Linked DNA regions of Homo sapiens: regions 1 and 3 are each linked to region 2. The links are contacts of gene promoters, found by promoter capture Hi-C in blood cells and fetal thymus (Javierre and others, 2016). All regions are on one chromosome and are shown on one strand. Each heading gives the region's core, a stretch centred on a gene start or on the middle of the fragment in contact. The rest is flanking DNA. Distances are from core to core; before and after follow the strand shown.

The links. The method cuts DNA at HindIII sites, captures the fragments that hold promoters and counts their contacts. A CHiCAGO score of 5 or more calls a contact.
Region 1: a contact is called between a fragment that was not itself captured here and the fragment with the promoter of MYG1 in region 2, in 2 of 17 cell types (erythroblasts and naive CD8 T cells). The highest score is 10.7, in erythroblasts.
Region 3: a contact is called between a fragment that was not itself captured here and the fragment with the promoter of MYG1 in region 2, in 1 of 17 cell types (erythroblasts). The highest score is 5.2, in erythroblasts.

What each region holds. Positions count from the first base shown.
Region 1 is chr12:53,022,048-53,025,344 of GRCh38, reverse strand. It overlaps EIF4B (eukaryotic translation initiation factor 4B), which reads right to left. Exons shown (of 15, transcript NM_001417.7): 6 at 2,718-2,852. Among named protein-coding and RNA genes, the nearest start is that of EIF4B, 17 kb to the right of the region's middle. The HindIII fragment of the contact is 3,982 bases long and covers 1-3,297 here.
Region 2 is chr12:53,297,961-53,301,034 of GRCh38, reverse strand. MYG1 (MYG1 exonuclease) reads right to left here and starts at 1,340. Exons shown (of 7, transcript NM_021640.4): 1 at 1,082-1,340; 2 at 773-885. The coding sequence starts at 1,297. It overlaps PFDN5 (prefoldin subunit 5), which reads right to left. Exons shown (of 6, transcript NM_002624.4): 5 at 2,885-2,990; 6 at 1,585-1,766. The coding sequence ends at 1,690. RefSeq lists enhancers at 1,116-1,295, 1,366-1,425, 1,236-1,530, 1,436-1,535, 1,576-1,665 and 1 more. The HindIII fragment of the contact is 10,124 bases long and covers 1-2,532 here.
Region 3 is chr12:53,565,913-53,569,188 of GRCh38, reverse strand. All of the region lies in intron 2 of ATF7-NPFF (ATF7-NPFF readthrough), which reads left to right. The region is part of intron 2 of ATF7 (activating transcription factor 7); the gene reads left to right. The region is part of intron 2 of LOC124902937 (a long non-coding RNA gene); the gene reads right to left. Among named protein-coding and RNA genes, the nearest start is that of ATF7-AS1, 54 kb to the right of the region's middle. RefSeq lists an enhancer at 1-133. The HindIII fragment of the contact is 1,164 bases long and covers 724-1,887 here.

The sequences.
Region 1 (3,297 bases), core at 533-3,032, 280 kb after region 2:
CGTTATCCATTCTGCTTGCTCTAAATTCAAGGTTTCAGGTGAGAAAAGTCATGCCCCTGGACTCAAAACAGGACCCTTGGTCTGATTGTCTGCTTTTTCTTTCAAGAGCCATTTCTTCCTGTTAACAATAGAATCTCTTGCATAAATGCTGAAGTTAATCACCTCACATAGTTCTCCCCAAGGCTTTGCTGTGTCACAAAGTCATGTAAAAAGTCAGATATAAACTTGCTGATTTATCCTTCTTTCAGACCTATGACCCATTCTTCTTCCTTCTACATCTTAAAAGGTTAAGGACTCTCCTCTAAAAGGAATTATACATATCCCTTACTGCTTCCCCAATTATATTTAGTACAAAGCTCAAAAGGTACCTCACAAAATTAAAATGCTTGTGCTGGGAGCGCTGGCTCACACCTGTAATCCCAGCATTTTGGGAGGTCAAGGCAGGCAGATCATCTGAGGTAAGGAGTTAGAGACCAGCTGGCCAACGTGGTGAAACCCCATCTCTACTAAAAAATACAAAAATTAGCCAGGTGTGGTGGTGCGCATCTGTAATCCCAGCTACTCAGGAGGCTGAGGCATGAGGAACACCCTGAACCTGGCAGGCAGAGGTTGCAGTGAGCCAAGATTGCCACTGCACTCCAGTCTGGGCAACACAGAGAGACTGTGTCAAAACAAAACAAAACAAAACAAAACAAAGAGCTTGTAAATTTAAGTTGGTCTGTTTTTACTTAAACTATTTCAAACATACAGAAAAGTAAAGACACCATTATAACAAACTTATGAACCTATTACTTAGGTTTAGTGAATGTCATATTTTGCCATGTTTGTTTTTTGTTTAAAAGAAATATGTTACAGACTAAAAACAGAATTTTCCCTATCCCCACCAACAATTAAAAGGGTGGTTAAATTACCATGCGTAGCTTTATAATTTTACAACTTATGCATTAATACTACATGGTATTGTTTTCAAATTTATACACAATTTTTTTCCCCTTAATGTAACAGGTTTTGAATTTTATCCCTGTTGTTATGCTATTAAGTATTTGATTACAGACAAACCACTATTTATTTATTTTTACTAGGTAGTAGCTTCTTTCCATTTTAAAAATAGTGTGGTCTACTTTTGTGTATTTTAATAAAGTTGCATAATTTTCCCCATAAAGGTCTTTGTTAAAGTGATGTATGTAATTAATCTCTACTCCTACCCCATGATATTTCCCACTCACCTATCTTTCCGCACCCCAACTGTTTAATTATTCACACACTGTCTCTTCCCTCCACTATAATAATGTATGCCCAATAAAGACAGGATTTTCTTGTTTTTGTTCACTGCTGTATCTTGAGCATTTAAGTGAATCAATTTTTATTAGAAAAAAATTACACTGCTGTATCTTTGTTCACTGCTATATCTTGAGTATTTTTAAAGTGAATCAATATTTTTATTTTAGAAAGTTACATTTTAGGCCAGGTGCAGTGGCTCATGCCTGTAATCCCAGCACTTTGGGAGGCTGAAGCAGGAGGATCACCTGAGGTCAGGAGTTCGAGACCAGCCTGACCAACATGGAGAAACCCCATCTCTACTAAGAATACAAAATTAGCCAGGCATGGTGGCACATGCCTGTAATCCCAGCTACTCGGGAGGCTGAGGCAGGAGAATCGCTTGAACCTAGGAGGCGGAGGTTGAGGTGACCTGAGATCATGCCATTGCACTCCGGCCTGGGCAACAAGAGCGAAACTCTGTCTCAAAAAAAAAAAAAAAAAAAAAATTTTACATTTTAATTGTTTGCTACAAGCATATAGTAATGCAACTGATGGGCCAGGCGCAGTGGCTCACGCCTGTAATCCCAGCACTTTGGGAGGCCAAGGCGGGCGGATCATGAGGTCAAGAGATCAAGACTATCCTGGCCAACATGGTGAAACCCCATCTCTACTAAAAATACAAAAATTAGCTGGGTGTGGTGGCGCGCGCCTGTAGTCCCAGCTACTTGGGAGGCTGAGGCAGGAGAATCACTTGAATCCAGGAGGTGGAGGTTGCAGTGAGCCAAGGTCACGCCACTGCACTCCAGCCTGGGCGACACAGCGAGACTCCGTCTCAAAAATATATATATATATCAAAAAGTAATGCAACTGATCTTTGTATGCTGCTCTTCACTCAGCAATCATGCTGAACTCTTATTTCAAATAGCTCACTTTGTAGAATCTGTTGGATTTTTTTTTTTGAGACAGGGTCTCGCTCTGTCACCCAGTCTAGACCTCCTGGGCTCAAGGAGTCCTCTTGCCTCAGCTTGCTGAACAGCTAGGACTGCAGGTGCGTACCACCACGTCAGCTTTTTCTTTTTCTTTTTGGTAGACAGGGTCTTGTTTTGTCGCCCAGGCTGCTCTCAAACTCCTGGCCTTAAGCAATCCACCTGCCTTGACCTCCCAAAGCGTTGGGATTATAGCCACCATGCCCAGTTTGGGTTTCTTTATAAACAATTGTCTCCAAAAAAAGAGAAATGTCTGTCCCTTTGTTTGGTTAAGTTTTCAAAAAAAATTATTAATTTATCAAATTCGTTTCCTGCATCTATCAGTTCTTTCAGATACTATCCAAAATTTTTCTTAATCTGCTTTCCTCCTTCTATCTGTTAATGTGATCTGATCATCTGTAACACATTTGTCCTATTACTAAATAGCCTCCCAAAGCACAGAGGAAGCTAACTTCATAAAAACAAACTTACTGTCTCCAAAGCTATCATCACCTCTTCTAGGTGGGTAGTCATCAAAGCTGTCTGTAGCAGGACGAGCCCTCCAGTCTGTATCTGTTTTGTCAGAATCCCGATTTCTATCACGGCCAAAAGAACGATCATCCCTGTCTACAGATACATTAAAACAAAAACCGTAAGTTATCTCATAAAAACTTTGCCCAATATTTCTCACACATAGAAAACCCCCATTTTACCCTATTTTTCACTTTCACGTCACACTGTCATCCCAGTTACCTCAGGCCCCATAAGTACATGCTCCAATTCAACCCCAGGTGGCTCTTTTCCTCCCGTTTTTTCCTATTGGTTTAATGCTTAGCTATCTCAAATTCTGTATGGGCCAGGAGTCCCTGAAACATATACAAATTAGGTCCCCTTTGTGACCAACGTGCTGTTAGGCAGCTAATCTATTTATCATCTATTTAATGTTCATCTAGATCAATCAGTCTTCTCAATCTTGACATGCATTTTGGGCTGCATAATTCTTTGTTGATGGGGACTGTCCTATTCCCTATAGAATTAACCCCTGGATTCTACTTATGTCAGCAGCACTCCC
Region 2 (3,074 bases), core at 91-2,590:
GACAGGAGAATCGCTTGAACCTGGGAGACAGAGGTTGCAGTGAGCCGAGATCGTGCCACTACACTCCAGCTTGGGCGACAGTGGGAGACTCCGTCTCAAAAAAAAAAAAAAAGAAAAGAAAAAAGAATCCCAGAGAAGAAAGTAATAGACTGGAAACAGGACAGAGGATTAACCTCCAATAGAAGGGAAGAAATTTCCCTTAGTTGGTAGGAGGGAGCTGAGGATGTTTGAGGTGGGAGACTGAGGAAATGCTCAACTTCTTTTGAAAAGAGGCAGGGACACTCAGTTTGATGCGGTAGAGGCTTGAGGGAGAAGAAAAGGATTGGAATGGGCTACCCTTGAGCAAGAAGGATTTCCCTTTGGAAGGGTGTAAATGAAGTAGAAAACTTCACACATCTGAACTGTCACCAACTGCCACAATCATGTGGGCCCAGCAGTTAGGTGCAGCAGCAAGGGCACCAGAATGGATTAATCACAGATGGGTTTATTTAGTTGGGGTGATGAAGTTGCTGATGGAAAAAAAGCCTTGGCTAAGGAAGGAGATGAGATAAGGGGCCTGAGGGACTCCCTGGGAACCAAAGGAGGTCCCAGGCCAGGGAGATGGGTGAAGAACAGGCAGGGCCGGAAGGATGATGTAGTCCTAGTGGGAGTTTGATTTCAGTGATGAAGCAGTTCTTTTCGCTGACGCGGACTACGGCAGTGGATGGCTGAATTGGAGCACAGAGGAAAGCTGAGGTCAAGGAAGTTAAATAAATGGTATCTGAGAACCTACCTCTGGTGATGGTCATATCGGTGTCTCCGAGGGTCGTACTCGCCCCCCACGTCCACCACGATGTCACAGGAAGCGAGTTTTTCGGGATCCCGGGTCCGCACAATCTCTGCATCCTGCGAGGTACACAGGGGTGAAGGGGCTGCCGGGTGTCGCCGGGTAGGGGATTAATGCTGGACTTCAGGGAGGCAGGAAGGGTAGGAAGGGTGCTTGGGCTGCCGGGCGCTATCGGAGTGACCCTGTTGGCGGAATGCCATCCACCCCGGAGGCATGCATGCACGCAGTCCCAGGGTCACTTTTCGCGGACCGTACCCGGTACTCCGGCAGGAGGCGAAGCAGTGCGCATGCCAGTGCCTCGTCGCAGTGGAAGGTGCCATTGTGCGTCCCGATTCGGGGCGGTGCCATGAGTTTGCTGCGGGATCGTTTTGGGGGCGGGACGGACTCTGGACCGAGCATGCGGTGCCGGGTATACAGGGGTGGCGGCGGCAGCAGCAGCGTTAAGAGGCCGCGCAGGAATTGGTGTCCCATAAGCAGCTCCCTGCAGGGAGGCAGGAGCGCCGACCCGGAAGAGGAAGCGCCAGCGCAGCCCCACTTCCGCTTGCCAACCGTTCCCTTGGCAACCAGCTCTGCAGAGTGAGCAGCAGCAGACTCCCAGCCTAGGATTTCTTCCAGCTGGTCAAAGGGCCCTGCGATGGAGCCTCCAAGAGGCGCATCGCATCACCCCTGCGCATCAGGCTCTGAGACGGGGCCCACACTCTCGACCACACCCCCCATCTCATCACCAGTCCCTTGCTTAATCCAAGAAAAGACCAACATTCTGCCCAGCTGGCACATTTATTGGCATTAAAACACAAGACCCTTCCCATCACCAGGAAGCCACGCCCAAAGGGTGTCCCTCTGCCCCATTTCTGCAAAAACTCTCAGGCCTTAGCAGTAGCCTGAGCTGCCCCCAGGGCTGTGAGCTGCTGAATCTTCTGACTCATCATTTCCATGACGGCTGTGGAAAAAAATAAGAGTCAAAGGTTAGAAGCAAAAAGGAGAACCTAGAGTTAAGGAGAAGTGACAGGCAAGTTTAAGGACAGGCGACCGACTAACTACAGTTTGTTAATAACCTTTTTTTTTTTTTTTTGAGACAGAATCCTGCTCTTGTCACCGAGGCTGGAGTGCAGTGGCACGATCTTGGCTCACAGCAACCTCCGTCTCCCGGGTTCAAGCGATTCTCCTGCCTCATCCTCCCGAACAGCTGGGATTACAGGCATGCACCACCATGCCCGGGCTAACTTTGTATTTTTAGTAGAGATGGGGTTTCACCATGGTGGCCAGGCTGGTCTTGAACTCCTAACCTCAGGTGATCCACCTGCCTTGGCCTCCCAAAGTGCTGGGATTACAGGCGTCAGCCACTGCGCCTGGCATTGTTAATAAAACTTTAACTCAGTGATCCACTGTGGGGTCACTAACACAAATTTAGGGTCTACAATGCATCGGTCAATATGCTAACACAGCTGGGTGTGGTGAGAATGAGACTCTTCTCGGAAAAAAAAAAAACCTGCTAACCAAAGATATAAAAACGAACACAATATGGTATTAAATGAGTCTGACATAATCAGAAAACTATGATGGGGAAAGATTTTTACCTTTGGAACACTGGTTCTGAATCCTGATTATAACAGAGGGGAGCTTTTTTAAAAAAAAACAGACCTTGGTACAACTTCCCCTCCTTTGACTTCCAAGTTGATTTAGTCAATCTGGAATGGGCCCAAGCTTTCTTTTTAAACTTCCTGAGTGATTCTCATGTGCAGTCGGGGTTATAATTGCTGGTATTTAGTTCGTTTGGATCATGATTCCTTCCTGTGTGTTCATCTCATTCCCCCATTCCATCGTCATTAAATAGGAGCTCCACCAAAGCACAAACATGATTTCCTTCCTCTAAATTTCTCAAACGCTCAACCCAGGAATCTACAGATAGTGATTATGCAATACACAGATTCTAAAGATGCCAAAGAGAAACTAAGACATAGTTTTACTCCAGCAAAGGGGACACCCCCGTGGTTCACACTGCAATCCATGTTCCTTATTATGGAGATAGGGTCAAGAGGTGCCCCAGGAAAAACTTACCCTGTTTCATGGCGTGCTTCTCCTGAAGAGCTGGTTGGATTTTCTCCATCTGCTTGGTTAGAAAATCTATCTTCCTCTTGAAGAAGTCCTTGGCATCCTCAGCTGTCTACAAGATCAGAGGTGAATAAGGGGCTAAAAGGAGACTCCCTCTGGCCATGCTGCGCTCTAGAGCTTCCCCTGAATTTCCCTT
Region 3 (3,276 bases), core at 56-2,555, 270 kb before region 2:
TTTTATTTTTTTTAAGAGACATGGAGCCCTCCTCTGTCGCCCAGGCCGGAGTGCAGTGGCACAATCATAGCTTACTGCAGCTTCAAACACCTGGGCTCAAGGGAACCTCCTTTCTCTCTCTCTCTTTCTCAGCCTCCCAAGTAGCTGGGACTACAGGCATGTGCCACCATGCCTGGCTACTCTTTAAATTTTTTAAGAGACAGGATTTCAATATATATTGCCCAGGCTTGTCTCAAATTCCTCAGGTGATCCTCCTGCCTCAGCCTCCCAAGTAGCTGGGATTACCAGCATGAGCCACAGTGCTTAGCTGCAATTTCATTCTTTGCCCCTACCTGCCTGCCTGCCTTCTTTGAGTGTAGACCTCTAGTCTGTGGCCAGCATTCTAAAAAATATCACTTATGGTTAGAAAGTAAACATCCAAAATTGAAGTTTTCCATTTGCCTGACTTTGTAAAACTAAAGATAGCTTATCAGAGCTTTCCTGGTTAGACACAAAGATAATCAGATGAATATGTCAACAAATTATGGTAAGAATTTTTTGCTGCATTAAATTAAGATAGCAGGGCAGAATTAGAGCACTTGACCAGTTTATGGTTTATATAGAAGACCTGCCAAACTATTTGAGCCTTTATCGTTGCCTATTTCTTTACCAGGCTGCAACCTCTTCTGTGGTTTCCGAGTCCCTGGGCCTGTAAGCTTTGATAGCTTGTTTAAAACAAAAGCTTAATACTGTATTTTGGTATTATTTTAAAGTGAGGGAAGGAGAGAGAGAGAAAGAGAGAGAGAGAGTGTGTGTGCGTAATCTCCTTGTAAACTTGAACCAAGTTTAGAGACGGTTTTAGAGACGAGTGCATGTGAGCACGCTCATTGGTTCTCTCCCCCTCCTCACCTTCCAGTTATATATTTTCTTTTGGCTTGACTGTTACAGTACTAAACTGCATAAGGCCTTAAAGATCAGGGCAGGGTTTTTGTTATTGTGGTCTCAGTACTGACTTGTATGTGCTCTACTCTGAATGCATTGTAAGCATTCAAAATTTTAAAACTCCTGTATTATCAGGAAGTATTTACAGTATAGTTTTTCCACAGTGAAATTTTCAGCAGCTCAAGCCAAACCACAATGTAGTAGGTTCATACTTTTCACTCTGTAACTTTGTCCTTCCCACCCATTTGTGAGATCCAGAAATTGTAACACTTAATGTGTAGCAAATTAGAAGATAAAAGTATTTGATACGTTTTTCAAGGATTTTGTACCTCATAACATCCTAATAAGAATTTGGGGAGAGAGATGAGATTGAAAAATAGAAATGTATAATGTCAACAAGAACTTAATAGGGCTGTGTGATAATTATTTTGATTTTAAAATAACCTTTTCTTGCTTTGTTAAGAACTACAGTTATCCCTTTGGGGACTTTAATGGTACCCCAGCTAAGTGGCTACATCTGGATAGGAGAATACTAAAAGGTCTACCATTAGGCAAGAGCTGTGGAGAAAGCAATTAGCCATGTAACTGACATAGGACCAGGCCTGGCTGAATTGCTGCTGGGATTTCTCTGCCTCCTAGGCACTGGTCCTTTAAAGTTTGTTGAGCATTTAACCCATCCAAGTAAGTAGCTGCCATCTAAGGAAAGATAATGGATCTATCCTTGTTAATTCTTAAGCGTAGTTCCCAAGAGTGCCCTGGAGTTTGATAAAAAGCCAAACACTGGGTATTGAGGAAGAGGGGCAGCGAGAAATAAGAAAACATGCTGCTCCAGTCTAAAACTCCATTCTTTAGTGAGGAGTGATCTTTAACTGCCCCAGTTTCCAAAGCAGCATTGTAAGGTGCCACTCTCTTACCATCTTGTTCTTCCTAAAAGCCCAGTGTATAGCCATTGTTTCTAAGGAAGCTTGAGGCAATAGGTGGTGATGAGATGGAATTTATTTGGTATATTATGTGAAAAAGAAAACAGAATTCAGCATTAGGATACAACTGATAAATATTCATGAAGATGTAGAATAAAATAATTTCTTGTATATTCCATTTCTAAGTTCCTTAGATAGAAAATGAAGTAGAATCTATACATATTGAAAATCGTATATTGGTTAGGAATGGTTTCAGATGCAAATACCTAACAGTAGCTTAAAACTGTGTGAACACAGGCTGGGCGCAATGGCTCACGCCTGTAATCCCAGCACTTAGGGAGGCAGAGGCGGGCGGATCACAAGGTCAGGAGTTCGAGACTAGCCTGACCAAGATGGTGAAACCCCATCTGTACTAAAAATACAAAAATTAGCTGGGCATGGTGGCGTGTGTCTGTAATCCCAGCTACTCAGGAGGCTGAGGCAGGAGAATTGCTTGAACCCGGGAGGCAGAGGTTGCAGTGAGCCAAGATCATGCCATTGCACTGCAGCCTGGGCAAGAGAGCAAGACTGCATCTCAAAACAAAGCAAAAACAAAAACAAAAAAAAACTGTGTCAACATTTATAACACAAGGTGTCCAGAATTAGGACTGTTTCAGCAGCTAAGCAAGTTTATCAAGGACCTAGGTTCTTTCTCTCTGCTGTACCATTTTTAGCTTTTACCTTTTAATCCTCATTCCTGTTGCCTCACTATCAGAGGATGGGAAAGAAATAAGGGGCAGGTAGCATCAGGAACTCTCTTGTTCTGGCTTTCCCTTTTATAAGGAGACAAAAGCCTTACATCAGAAGTGCCATCCTCCACCCCCACCACGGTGGATTTCATTGTCTTATTGGCCTGAACTGTGTGACAGGTTTAATACCAGCTGCATAGGAAAAAGGAATATCTTGCTTTTCAGCCTTTATAGTGAGGCAAGCAAGAGAAAATGGTTGAAAAATGGGGGTTGGGTTAAGAAACCAATAATGTCTTCCTCAAACCTATTGCCCCTTCCCTTTCACTGCCTTACTCTCCCTTCTCCTGAGCAATCCAGTTATACAAGGCATTAATTGACAACAGTCTTCTCAGGACTGATAGTTTATAGTTTATAGCTGATATACTTTGGCTGTATCCTCTCCTAAATCTCACCTTGAATTGTAATAATCCCCATGTATTGTGGGAGGGACCTAATGGGAAGTAATTGAATCATGAGGGGCAGGTTTTTCCCATGCTGCTCTCATTGATAGTGAATAAATCTCACTAGATCTGATGGTTTTATAAAGGGGAGTTCCCCTGCACATGCTCTTCTTGCCTACTGCCATGTAAGATGTGACTCTGCTTCTCCTTTGCCTCCCGCCATGATTGTGAGACCTCCCCAGCCATGTGGAACTGTGAGTCCATAAA